Regions from separate parts of the Homo sapiens genome. Here all the other regions are linked to region 1. The links are contacts of gene promoters, found by promoter capture Hi-C in human tissues and cell types (Jung and others, 2019). All regions are on one chromosome and are shown on one strand. The core of a region is centred on a gene start or on the middle of the fragment in contact, and the rest is flanking DNA. Distances in the headings are between cores, read along the strand shown.

The links. Contacts are between HindIII fragments. The study calls those that stand out against the background at their distance.
Region 2: a contact is called between a fragment that was not itself captured here and the fragment with the promoter of CHURC1-FNTB in region 1, in 1 of the 25 tissues and cell types used here (heart right ventricle).
Region 3: a fragment that was not itself captured here is called in contact with the fragment with the promoter of CHURC1-FNTB in region 1 in 1 of the 25 tissues and cell types used here (aorta).

Annotation. Positions count from the first base shown.
Region 1 is chr14:64,912,016-64,916,356 of GRCh38, forward strand. It overlaps CHURC1-FNTB (CHURC1-FNTB readthrough), which reads left to right and starts at 2,346. Exons shown (of 14, transcript NM_001202559.1): 1 at 2,346-2,519. The coding sequence starts at 2,400. It overlaps CHURC1 (churchill domain containing 1), which reads left to right and starts at 2,440. Exons shown (of 4, transcript NM_001386928.1): 1 at 2,440-2,519. The coding sequence starts at 2,481. RefSeq lists enhancers at 2,240-2,289, 2,440-2,709. The HindIII fragment of the contact is 18,830 bases long and covers 1-4,341 here.
Region 2 is chr14:65,848,432-65,852,772 of GRCh38, forward strand. No RefSeq gene overlaps it. Among named protein-coding and RNA genes, the nearest start is that of LINC02290, 260 kb to the right of the region's middle. RefSeq lists a silencer at 2,188-2,363. The HindIII fragment of the contact is 4,672 bases long and covers 1-4,131 here.
Region 3 is chr14:64,375,513-64,379,853 of GRCh38, forward strand. No RefSeq gene overlaps it. Among named protein-coding and RNA genes, the nearest start is that of MTHFD1, 11 kb to the right of the region's middle. The HindIII fragment of the contact is 3,754 bases long and covers 7-3,760 here.

The DNA of each region.
Region 1 (4,341 bases), core at 1,096-3,595:
ATCGCTTGAACCTGGGAGGCAGAGGTTGCAGTGAGCCGAGACTATGCCAGTGCACTCCAGCCGAGGTGACACAGTGAGACTGCCTTAAAAGAGAGAGAGAGAAGAAAAAAAGACTAGCCCTGTCCAATAGGAATATGAGAGCTACATGTGTAATTTTTAATTTTCTAGTAGTCACATTAAAAAAGCAGGTGAAATTAATTTAATAATACATTTTTATTTAACCCAGTACGTCAAAAATTATTTCAACGTAATCATATAAATTTATTAATGAGATTCTTATATATTTTAATACTAAATCTTCCAAATCTGGTGTGCAGAATGTACTCACAGCACAATCTCAGTTCAACTTGCCATATTTAAAGTGCTTTATAGCCATAAGTGGCTAGTGCTACTGTATTAGAAAGAAATTGAGATAAGGATAGCAACAGAGTCCTAGCCCTGGCTGACTACTGAGTAGCTTTGTTACCATAGACAAGACCTTTAACCACTCACTTCTGTGGTTTCCTTATCTGAAAAGAGGAGACATATTTTTCTTACCAACCACATAGGATTGTAATAGCATAAAATTAGAAACTGAAATGAGGACACTTTTGAAAGGTTGAAAATGTCATACAAATGGGAGGTATTATAATTATTCTAAGAATAAGGTAAACTCTGATGGCTCTAGTTCTTGCAGTGTTTCTTAGCACACCTATGATTTTTAATAACAGTTGCAGATACTTACTAGAAGTTGAAATACTAAAGGTTACAACTTCAGTGCTTCCGTGGAAAAATAATTCCCATATTAGCAAACCCATTTAAACTGGTGTGCTTTGAAATGGTTATTAATCTCTTCTTTAAGGAATCTGGATCCCAGAGTCTCCCAGGCTCCCCAATCTTTCTTCCCTGACATGACAGCAATAAAGCAGGGCTGAGGGAGGATGTTGATGTTCCCATTGGGGTAGAGGAGTGTGATAAAGACGCATTGTTCAGAAACAGAGACAAACTTCGGAGATTCGTCTGCAAGTTAATTAGGTCGTTGCGAATAAATAAGATGCTTTCAATACAGAGAGAAAGGATGAGGCGGGGCAACAAGCACAAGCATTTTGAGACCCACAGGATTGGGAAATGATGCAGGAACAACTGACCTGGCCATTTTTCTTTCTTTCTTTCTTTTCTTGGAAGCACATATGTTTATTGGTTTTTTAATCTGTGAACCAATAGGTCATTTATAAATGGATGTGCAAATCTGAAATCAAAATATCTGCAGTCAATTCAATTAGATAATTTTTGAAATCTATTTATTTTTAATATACTTTAAGTTCTAGGGTACATGTGCACAACGTGCAGATTTGTTACCTATGTATAGATATGCCATGTTGGTGTGCTGCACACATTAACTCGTCATTTACATTAAGTATATCTCCTAATGCTATCCCTCCCCCCTCCCCCCACCCCACGACAGGCCCCGGTGTGTGGTGTTCCCCACCCTGTGTCCAAGTGTTCTCATTGTTCAATTCCCACCTATGAGTGAGAACATGCGGTGTTTGGTTTTCTGTCCTTGCGATAGTTTGCTCAGAATGACGGTTTCCAGCTTCATCCGTGTCCCTACAAAGGACATGAACTCATCCTTTTTTATGGCTGCATAGTATTCCATGGTATATATGTGCCACATTTTCTTAATCCAGTCTATCATTGATGGACATTTGCATTGGTTCCAAGTCTTTGGTATTCTGAATAGTGCCACAATAAACATACATGTGCATGTGTCTTTATAGCAGCATGATTTATAATCCTTTGGGTATATACCCAGTAATGGGATGGCTGATGACCTGGCCATTTTTCTATTTACATAGTGCTTGCCCGCCACTGAGGTGCTTCTGTGACACCTGAGAGAGATAGAAATACGTTCCTCGTTGCTATGTCCTCCAGAGGACTCTGGAATGACCAATTATTACTAATATTTTAAGTGTTTTTTTAGGAGATTTTCTGCAGCACTCTGAGTGTCTCTTCCCAAACACTTCGGTTACTGTTTATTCACCTGCTGAGATCTGGTCTCTTATTCACTCTCATTGCCTTAAGAAATGGTACAGAAATGTATTCATTAACATTTCAGATTTGTATATGCGGTAGCGAGAAATAATTCCCTTTCTTGTGTGTCGTGATTTGCCTTTCTTGTCAGCCTAAGCTCAGGAAGGTGTCTGTGAGAACTTCGCTCAGCCCAAGATCCCTTTCCCTTCCCGTCACATCTGTTAGCGCACAAGATTTCTTCGTCTGTCTCCAAAGGTTTCTGAAGCCCCACCCTTTGCCCACGCACGGTGCCAAGGAGACTGTGCCCTGCCTTGACAACAGTTGCTAAGGGGCGGAGACTTCGGCTCGGTTCCCGAGACGGAATACCCAGGAGTCGAGTACTTGGGCGCATGCGGCAACCGTATCTCAGTTCTCGCGAGGTTTCGTCTTCCCGGAAGCGTTGGAGGACATTCCCTGTTGACTGCGTCGCGATGTGTGGCGACTGTGTGGAGAAGGAATATCCCAACCGGGTGAGCGACTGGGCGCTCCCTTGGCCCGCGGGCGGCCCCCGAGGTGTCTCATATCCAAGGCTGGCCTTCCCAGAGAGGCCGTACGTGGGGCGGACTCGGCCGCACTGCCGGTCCCGGTGACCCAGTAGCGGTATTTAGGCACACCAGGGATGGCCTGTGGCGGTCTGCACCTCTGGTACCCGCCCTGGCGGCTGACCTCAGTTGTAGTGGCCGTTCTCTTGAGCTCCAAGGAGCAACAGAGGAACCCCACCACCACCACAACCCCCGTCGACAACCGAGGGACTCCCCCACCCCCACTTCCGGTCTCATCCTCAAGCTCGATTTGATGAAGTACAATTTTCTTACCGAATTCTAGCGCTGGAGGGGACCTCTGTGGTCATCTGTTCTAACACTTTTGCAGATGAAGAAACCGATGCCCAGAGAGGGGAAATCACTTGCCCAAGTTCACATTCTAGTTGCATGGATGAGAGCCAGGACTAGAATTTAGGTTTCCTGCCTGTTACCGCCTTCTGAATCTCAGTTACTTTCAGGTTCAGGAGTTTGCAAAGCTTGTCTATTCTCATTCATTCAAGGCATCCTTGTTGAACATTTATATATGTGTAGTTAGATTACTTTGCTAGGCCAGAAAGGGATTATTTCTCCTCTCTTTGAGACAGGGTGCTGCTGTTGCCCAGGCTGGTCTCAAATTCCTGGGATCAAGTGATCCTCCCGCCTTGGCCTCCGAAAGTGCTGGGATTACTGGCATGAGCCACCACGTCCAGCTGGATTATTTGTTTCAGAGAAGAAATTAAAAGGCACCTTTGGTGCTGCCTAACAGCTTACAGTTTTGGGGAGTATGTGACTAACAAAAAATGAGTAGCTCAGTTCAGAAATGCTATTCAAGTTTAGGGAAAGGGGAGGGCAATAGGGGATAGTGCTGTTCTCCCCTGAGAAAAGGTGGACATCATCTAAGACTTGAAGGACAGTTGTAATTAGGGTAGAAAAGAAGGTGAGGAGCTGGAGGATGGGGGAAAATTACAGAAATGGAATTTGTGCATTGGTTGGGAAGGAGGGAGAAAGTCTCTGTAGTTCCTTATGTCTTAGTATCTTATGGGTAATACTTAGGCTTTTGAGTAGCATGTATAACAGTATGAATTCTCCTGTAGTACAACTACTTTGAAAAAGCGGGTGAGCCTTATAAAATACAGACATGACCCAGTGATTCCCATTCTAGAAAAATGCATGTGTATATGCTTCTGAAGACTTTTATAAATAAGTGTTCATAACAGCATTATTTTTGTAGTAGATTGGAAAAGTAACTGATACATTCATTAGAATGGAACACCATTAATGAATGAGGAATGGAAGTGAATGAATTAGAGCAGTAGTTCTCTACCAGGAGTGATTTTTGGCTCTTAGGAGACATTTGGCAATATCCAGAGACATTTTTTGGGTGTCAAAAGGGGAAGTACTACTGACTGCTAATGGGTGATGCAAGGGATGCCGCTAAACATCCAGCAATACATGGGACAGCCACCACAACAAAGTATCACTCCCAATGTCAATAGTGTGGAGGTAGAGAAACCCTGAATTATAGCCGTGAAACCAAACTAGAATTACACAGCAGCCTGAAAAGTCTTACAAATAGTGTTGATGAAAGAACACATAAAGTATAATTCAAAAAGAGGCAAACCAAAATATATTATTCAAGGATGTACCTGGGTGGTAAAACTGTAAGGAACGTATACAATTACTGTTAAGTCGAGATAGTGGTTACTCCTAAGGGATTAGGGTGTGATCAAGAAGGGTCACATGAGAAAAAGTCTTCCCGGGTGCAAGCAGT
Region 2 (4,341 bases), core at 546-3,045, 940 kb after region 1:
AATTTATTTGAATGTAGTCGTAAGAGTCCAGGTCCCACCAAAGTTGGTGGGTCTCCTGGTTTCTGTCACCTGAATTCAGCCTCTGTTCTGGTGGATACAGTGGTATGTGGGGTCTGGCTCATACAAGCCTGCAAAGGTTTGTTCAATATTCAGGCATTTTGTGAACCAGAATCAGTATTCAAAATTAAATGATATAAACTCACACTTCGGCCGGGCGCGGTGGCTCACGCCTGTAATCCCAGCACTTTGGGAGGCCGAGGCGGGTGGATCATGAGGTCAGGAGATCGAGACCATCCTGGCTAACAAGGTGAAACCCCGTCTCTACTAAAAATACAAAAAATTAGCCGGGCGTGGTGGCGGGTGCCTGTAGTCCCAGCTACTCGGGAGGCTGAGGCAGGAGAATGGCGTGAACCCGGGAAGCGGAGCTTGCAGTGAGCCGAGATTGCGCCACTGCAGTCCGCAGTCCGGCCTGGGCGACAGAGCGAGACTCCGTCTCAAAAACAAACAAACAAACAAAAAAAACCTCACACTTCAATAAATTACATTTAAAACAAGGCTAATAGGTACTCAAAACTCATGACTTCCTAATGATTTGGCTGTATTTTACTATTGTCTATGCTCTTGGGTTTTCTTTGTTATGCCTGGTGAATCTGTCTGGAAATACTACTATCTGTGTTCATCTCTTCCAACACTGTGTTCAGTAACATTATGTTGATACCATGAAACCAGCTGTGGCGGGAACATTTACACTACTAAAAGTGGCAAACACTACAAATCAGGGCTTTTATGGTAGAGCTAGTTGTTAGACATTTACCAACACGCTCTTGGGGCTCATGTCACCTCTGAGGTGACACTGAATTGTGAATCCTGGCCAACATTCCTTCCACCATCTGGCTCATGTGTTCCCAGTTCTAAGCAAAATACAGTCAGAAAGAAGGTACTCTATAGTCGCTTCTTAAATTAAAAAAATGGAACACCAAAAACCTCATAAAATCCATTTCATAAGTGACTGTTAAGTATCATACTTTGTTTTGTGGGATTATGCTGAGGTTTCCACCTGAAACCTTTATTCCCGTGGCTAATGGAGACATCTCTATAAGGCTGATTTAATCCTTTCCAATACTTCTTATTTATTTTTCATAGTGGGCCCAGCCTAATAACTGTTCTGCCTGTTAGGGAGCTGCCTTCTGCAGCAGTTTTGATGCAACACCTTTCACCGACCCCTGGAGGACCAGACAGCCAGAAGTACCTTTGGTTCACACTGATTATTAGCAGCTTAGCATCTTGAGTGCTAAGCATACTCCCCTCCTGCTGGTTAAATCCCTTGTTTTTTTCCTCTTGGTTGCACTAAGATAATCGCTAAGTATTCATCACACAAGGGCAGTGTGCTAGGTTCTGCTTTGTCAGGAAAACAGGAAGTGTTTTTTTCACTAATGCTCAGAGCCAATCCAGCATGATAGGGATTTAATGAGAGACTGGAAAGAGCCCAGCAGACAGCCAGGTATATGATGAGAGACCTGTCCCCAGTCCACTGGAAGGCCAAAGCAGCTGATACTAAGGCCCCTATGACAACTGGTATTCTTGGTACATTTTTGAAGTTGCTGATATATTCTTTAAAAAAAGAAAAACAGAGATGAAAAAATGTACTGTCACTAAGAGTTTGGGGTTAAGTTTCTTGAGGCAGAATAGATATGGATCCAGCCATCCATTCCTAGATAACTAATCAAGCAGTACGAAAACCTAGGAAAAAGTCTGCTTAGGCTCTTTGAGATTCTCTTGCCTATGGACGGGGCTCTGGGGATAGCGGGTGCAGAAAGTGAAGGAGAATCCACCTGCTATTGGCTTGCTTCCTGTAGGGTAATGCTTGTCGTGGGTGATACCAAACAACGAGAGGTCATTTTCTATGAGGAGTTTATGTAACTGGATGAACCTACCATTGAAACTTTAAACAAGGCAACTGTTGGCCACCATGCCATCAGTGGTGATAGGGGTGAAGACACAGATTTCTTACCTCCAGTACATTCTACTCCCTCTAGTTTCTAAATGAGGTATCTTAGAAAAGAAAAAGGCATAAAAGGAATCACTGATAGCAACTTAGCACTTCTAGGCCCTGACTACCCTCCCCAGCTTCATACTGAGTCAGACTTCCGTGTTTCTCAGAAGGGAAAAAGAAACTAGAGCAAAGCCGCAGTCTCCTGCACAGCTCCAGGAACGTGCTACCCTTGACACCTGCTGTCCTATCCCGTTTTGGGGGGTGCGGGGTTGCCCAGCCTCTCTGTTTCTCTGCTGCTGTTTCAGAGACTCTGTAGTATGCATACTGGCTCCCCAAGAAAAGCCGAAGCAAAAGTGGTAATTTAGTGGGAGATCATATTCCACGGGTTGAGTCTCATGCTGTGTTGGTCCCATAGATGCAATTAGTTACCCGAACAGCAGAAAGCTTGTTCTGTTGTTGGCAGGTACTTTGGCACATCACCCATGGAACAGATGGCTACTTGTTCCACAAATTAGATTTCCAGATGATTGCATAAAAGTGTGTCATCCAGCCACTCCTTCCTTGCCCTTCCTGCCTCTCGGACGGATTGGAATGACTCTAGGTAAATGCACTGACCTTCTGCCAATTAGCCATTCCTCTGGGTGGGAGCACAGAGGAGACAGGGTCTGAGGGAAGCAGGGGAGTCCACTCTATGCAGACACTTAATTAATCTGCAATGTGCACATCGTCTTGCCCTTTCCCTCCCACCCGCATCCCAACTTTCCCAAATGATGTATGTACTGACCTGAAGGTACCTTGTTTCCCTTCAATCAGCCTTGATGGCCAGGTTGGAAGGGTTTTCTCTGCTCCAGGTCTACTCTTCTGAGTCATAATGCTGGGATGCAAAGAAGAATCCTGCCCCGTCGCTAAGGGGTGAAATAGGAGGGGACTTCTGCGGCAGAACTGCCCACCAGTCTCCTCCTGTCCCTGCACTCTCTTCCCAGAGGACTTACATTTACTCTAATCAGACAAGGGGAGTCCTTTCATCATGTCCCCTCTCTATCCCAATCTCATTGACCAAAAAGGGACCAATTCTGACTGGCCAGAAGCCAATCAGATTTCCTCTCTTGGAAAATGAAGACGAAGTAATCAGGCTGCTGACTGGGATCAATGCGCAGGCGCTAGAGTGATGGTCCAGGCACGCTTGCTGCAGGGGTCTCCAAATGGGCCCAGCTCCAGGGTCTGCTTGGTCACCTTCTCCTTGGATCCTCTTAATCCAGACCTTTAGAATAAATATCCCTTTATTTAAATTCGCACAAGTGGTTTCTGTAAGTAAAATGATTCCTCGCTTGTGCAACCCTTACCCTACTTTCTTCATCAAAGGACAGTCACAGAAACCATGTCACTGCCTTGACTGTAACTAGTCCCCAAATCCTGAAATGTCAGATGCCCACCACTGTGCCAGGCAAAACATTCCTGAGCCAGCGCCACAGTCAGGTTCAGTCATGAATGGAGTGGGACCGTATCTGAATGTCCCTCACCTGTGCTCTACCCACTAGCGTACATCACGTTGCTTGAGTCTTAAAACCATGACATCCGTGTTCTTTCCTCTAGTTGCCAAAGGGACCATGCTGAAGGGGCTGACCTTCTGTGTCTTGGGCTTACTCAGCGATGTTGGGGTCATCATACCAGTAGGGTTGGCTACTGATTGTACTGCTTGATTGTCTTGCCTTTACCGTAAGGTGGTTTAGAGTAGAGAGAAGCAGGGCTTCTCATGACAGAGGTAGCTTGGGACATGGATAGTCGTCCAGTGAGGAGGCAGCTGGGCTCAGGCGCAGAGCTCCTGGAGGCAAGTATAGGAAATGCCCTGTCAGCTGGAGAAGTCAGTCGTTTTGGTTTTATTTCTTTGGTTTGCTTGCTTTTGCTTATTTATTTTCTCAAAAATTTCAAACAAACCTGCCTGCCAGGGTGTGTGCCAGGAGGCCATTGGACTCAGTCTTTATAAAAGGGATGGTTATCTCTGTGGGTCTGATGAAAGTGACCTTCAACATTCCCTACATAGGATGGCAAAGGAGATCAGGAACATGACTCCTCGCCCTCATTCCAGGCTCTAGACTTAGGACCCCTGAGACCAAGCTCTTGTCTGCTCAACCAGTGACCACTGTCTGCTAGCTGCTTGGAGATAGTCCTGTATGGGCCATTGGGGCACTGGGGAGCTGCTGGTCTGCCTTAAGAGGGACTCGGGTGAAGCAGCATGTCTATTGTCATAGTGTATTTGGCCAGAGGCACACTAGGAGAGACTGACTGTGGGTGATGAACTTGTCTCCCTGTCTAGCATGTTCCTTCTGTACTTGGTGATCTGTTCCTGA
Region 3 (4,341 bases), core at 634-3,133, 540 kb before region 1:
TTCCTAGCAGCAAAGGCTGTATGAAGACCATTTTATTTATTTATTTATTTATTTTTGAAACAGAGTCTCACTCTGTTGCCCAGGCTGGAGTGAAGTGGCACACTCTCGGCTCACTGCAAGCTCTGCCTCCTGGGTTCAAGCAATTCTCCTGCCTCAGCTTCCCAAGCACCTGGGATTACAGGTGTGCACAACCACTCCCAGCTAATTTTTGTATTTTTAGTAGAGACCGTATATCCAAAGTGCTGGGATTACAGGCATGAGCCACCGCCCCCAGCCAAGTATGTAACATTTTTGAAATCACATTTTAGAAATGGAAAAGGGATTAGTGGTTGTCAATAGTTGGGGATGAGAAGGAAGTGGATGTGGATACAAAAGGGCTACCTGAAGGATACTTGTGATGTTAGAACTGTTCAGTATATTGACTAGTTATATCGAACTTAATACACAAACACACAATTGAATACAAGTAAAACTGGGGAAATCTGAATAAACTCAGTGGATTGTATTAATGTCAATATTCACGCTGTTACATTAGACTATAATTTTGCAAAATTTTACCTTTGGGGGACACTGGGCTAAGTATACAAGTGATATCTCTGAATTATTTCTTATAATGGCAAGTGAATCTACAATTATCTCAGTAAAATTTTCAATTAAAAATGATAACAGGCCATGAGCAGTGGCTCATGCCTGTAATACCAGCATTTGGGAGACTGAGGCGGGTGGATCATTTGAGGTCAGGAGTTCGAGCCCGTCTACATTTGCTTTGACAAACAGATTCAAAAAATTACAATGAGCAAATAATTTATCGACATGTACAGAGCTGCTTTTAAAAAATATTTTGGAATTCTTGAAACTAGCTTATATATTTTCTTTAAACAAGGTACCTACAATCTTTTTTGACAATTTGGTTTAAAAAGTTTTTAATGAATTATGCATAGACATAAATCTTAATCTAATCCAAATCTGAATTATCAAAAATTATAAACTTCTTAGCATTAGTAGTAAGTTAATACTATAGTAAGTACAGGGAAAGAAGAATGCTACCCATAATTAAATTGCTACACATTTCAGGGACTGGCATCACATTTTGCTGAAAGAAAAGACAAATGTAAGACATCTCTCAAAGGTATCATCAGATATATTGTGTTTATACAAGTTCCATTTAAGTTTAAGCTTTATTAGCTTTTCTATGCCAAAAGAGGGAAAGCATTAACATAAGTAAAATGGAAATATATATATATATATATATATATATATATATATATATAAAATCCCAGCACTTTGGGAGGCCAAGGTAGGAGGATCACTTGAGCCCAGGAATTCAATATCAGCCTGGGCAAGATAGTGAGACACATCTTTACAAAAAAACAAAGAAAAAAAAATAGCTGGGCATGGTGGCAAGCACCTGTGGTCCCAGCTACTCAGGAAGCTGAGGCAGGAGAATCACTTGAGGCTAAGAGATCAAGGCTGCAGAGATCCGTGATTGTGCCACTGGATTTCTTTTTTTAGGATCAGAGAATGGAAAAAAAAGCGGGGGGGCATTTAGAAACTGTGCAATGGAGGGGTTGCATGTAAGTGCGGTGTGTTTCTGCTGGGTGGTGTCTCCCAAAAAATCAAACAGGCCCAAAATGAGAGGAATTTTCATACGAAGAGGAAAAAATCAGGATTATGTGATTTGAGGAATGTAGAACAGGAGGCATAGGGCTTGACTTTCTTTTACTAATCCTGAAATCTGTTTTCAAATTCTTCTAATTCATTCTAGGTGTATTGGTATTGCAGGCAGCTATTAAAGTATAAATATCTCTAGGCTGGACGTGGTGGCTCATGCCTGTAATCTCAGCGCTTTAGGAGGCTGAGGTGGACAGATCTCTTGAGCCCAGGAGTTTGAGACCAGCCTGGGCAACATGGCGAAATCTCATCTTTATACACGAAAAAGCACAAAAATTAGCCAGGCATGGTGGCATGCACCTGTAGTCCCAGCTGCTCGGGATGCTGAGGTGGGAGGATTGCTTGGGCCCCTGAGTTCAAGGCTGCAGGGAACCATAATGGAGCCACTACACTCCAGCCTGGGTGACAGAGCGAGACCTTGTCTCAAATAAAATAAAATAAGAATAAAAAAAAAAATCTATAATGAGACTAGTCTCTTTTCTCATTTTCATTACTTGATACCTAAGAAAATTACTCTATTAATTCTTTTTCCAAGACCTAAAGAAGAAAATCAAAGAACTTAAATTTTAGTAGACGAAAATGAAGAATGAACTGTTTCTCAGTCCTAGAACAAGAATGATACTGGAGACAAAGTTCTTTATTTTTCAAGATGGAGTTTTTTGCTCTTGGCACCCAGGCTGGAGTGGAATGATGTGATCTCGGCTCACTGCAACCTCCGCCTCCTGGGTTCAAGCGATTCTCCTGCCTCAGCCTCCCGAGTAGCTGGGATTATAGGCACCCGCCAGCATGCCCAGCTAATTTTTGTATTTTTAGAGAGACAGGGTTTTGCCATGTTGGCCAGGCTGGTCTCAAACTCCTGACCTCAGGTGATCCACCCACCTCGGCCTCCCAAAGTGCTGGGATTACAGGCATGAGCCACCACGCCTGGCCTGACAAAGTTCTTAAGAATTTCATCCTTTACTTTTATTTCTATTTCTTTACCATTTTATGAAACTTGTGCTGTATTGACTTTACTTAATGAGTTTCACTCACACTGTCTCTAAGAAACAAGCTACTAGGGAGGCTGAGGCAGGAGAATCGCTTGAACCCAGGAGGTGGAGGTTGCAGTGAGCCGAGATCGCGCCACTGCACTCTAGCCTGGGCAACAGAGCAAAACTCTGCCTCAAAAAAAAAAAAAGAAAAAGAAAAAAAAGAAAAAAGAAACAAGCTACCGTGTGGGACAAAATATAAACCAAGAAGGATGAACATATAAATCCTCCAGTATAAGTTCAAGTACCATCTCCTCCAGGGAGTTTTCTTGATTCCTAAAAGGTAAGGGTAATCTCTTCTCTTATAGTATGTGATTTTCTTTTGACTGTTGTCTCATTCAATATTATACTATGTAAAAATCTCATCTCCTCTACTACATTAAATGTATCTAGGCCAGGGCAGTGGTTCATGCCTGCAATCCTAGTACTTCAGGAGGCTGGGGTGGGAGGATCACTTGAGACCAGGAGTTTGAGATCAGTCTGGCCAACCAAGTGAGATCCTGTCTCTATGAAAATTTTAATAATTAGCCAGAGGTGGTGGTGTGCACCTGTAATCTCAGTTACTTGGGAGGCTGAGGTGGAGGATGGCTTGAGCCAGGAGTTAGTCTGTAGTAAGCTATGATTGTGCCACCAGCCTGGGTGACAGAGTAAGACCCTGTCTCCAAACAAACAAACAAATAAAGGTACCTAAAAACAGGAGCTATTTCTGTTATCTTTATCATCCCATACCAGGCACAAAAAATATGGATCGTAAAATGAAAGAACCAAACAGGGGAAAAACCTTAATGAAAAACCTTAATGCAAAGTTAACTAATATAGATGATGATAGTGCTATTCTCCCAAACTAACCTTATAAAGATACAATAAAAATGTATTAGGAATCTAAAGTAAAAATAAAATATAGCACCGTTACATGATTATTCTGTGATTTTAGGTTTGTACATGACTACTTTATTTTTTACACACTCAAAAGATGTAGTATGCTATGCTGCATTTAGTAAGAAGTGAAAAGTATAAATTTTTACCACATCAGACTCTGGAGAAAATTCCAAATACAAGGCCAGTTTCCAGAAGAGACCTGAATTGTCCAACATGAGTAGCTGCTCTGAGCAATTTGCCTGTAGAATGTTTGCATATCAAAGAAGCTGTTGCTAGGTGAACACATCACAGAGGTACAAAGAAAAAGGACCTTCTAAAGTGTTACAGTAAAACCTGTAGCTCTGGCTGGGCGCAGTGGCTCACGCCTGTAATCCCAGCACTTTGGGAGGCCAAGGCGGGTGGATCACAAGGTCAAGAGATTGAGACCATCCTGGCCAATATGGTGAAACCCTGTCTCTATTAAAAGTATAAAAATTAGCTGGGCGTGGTGGCAGGCGCCTGTAGTCCCAGCTACTCAGGAGGCTGAGGCAGGAGAATCGCTTGAACCCGGGAGGCGGAGGTTGCAGTGAGCTGAGATCACGCCATTGCACTCCAGCCTGGGAGACAGAGCAAGACACCATCTCAAAACAACAACAACAACAACAAAAACATGTAGCTCTTTCTCCAATTAATGAAGTGAAAACACAAATGATTTTCATCAAGCATTAGTACTTTAAGTAATCTTAAGAAAGTGATCCCACCAAAAGTGAACAGTCCAGTAAAC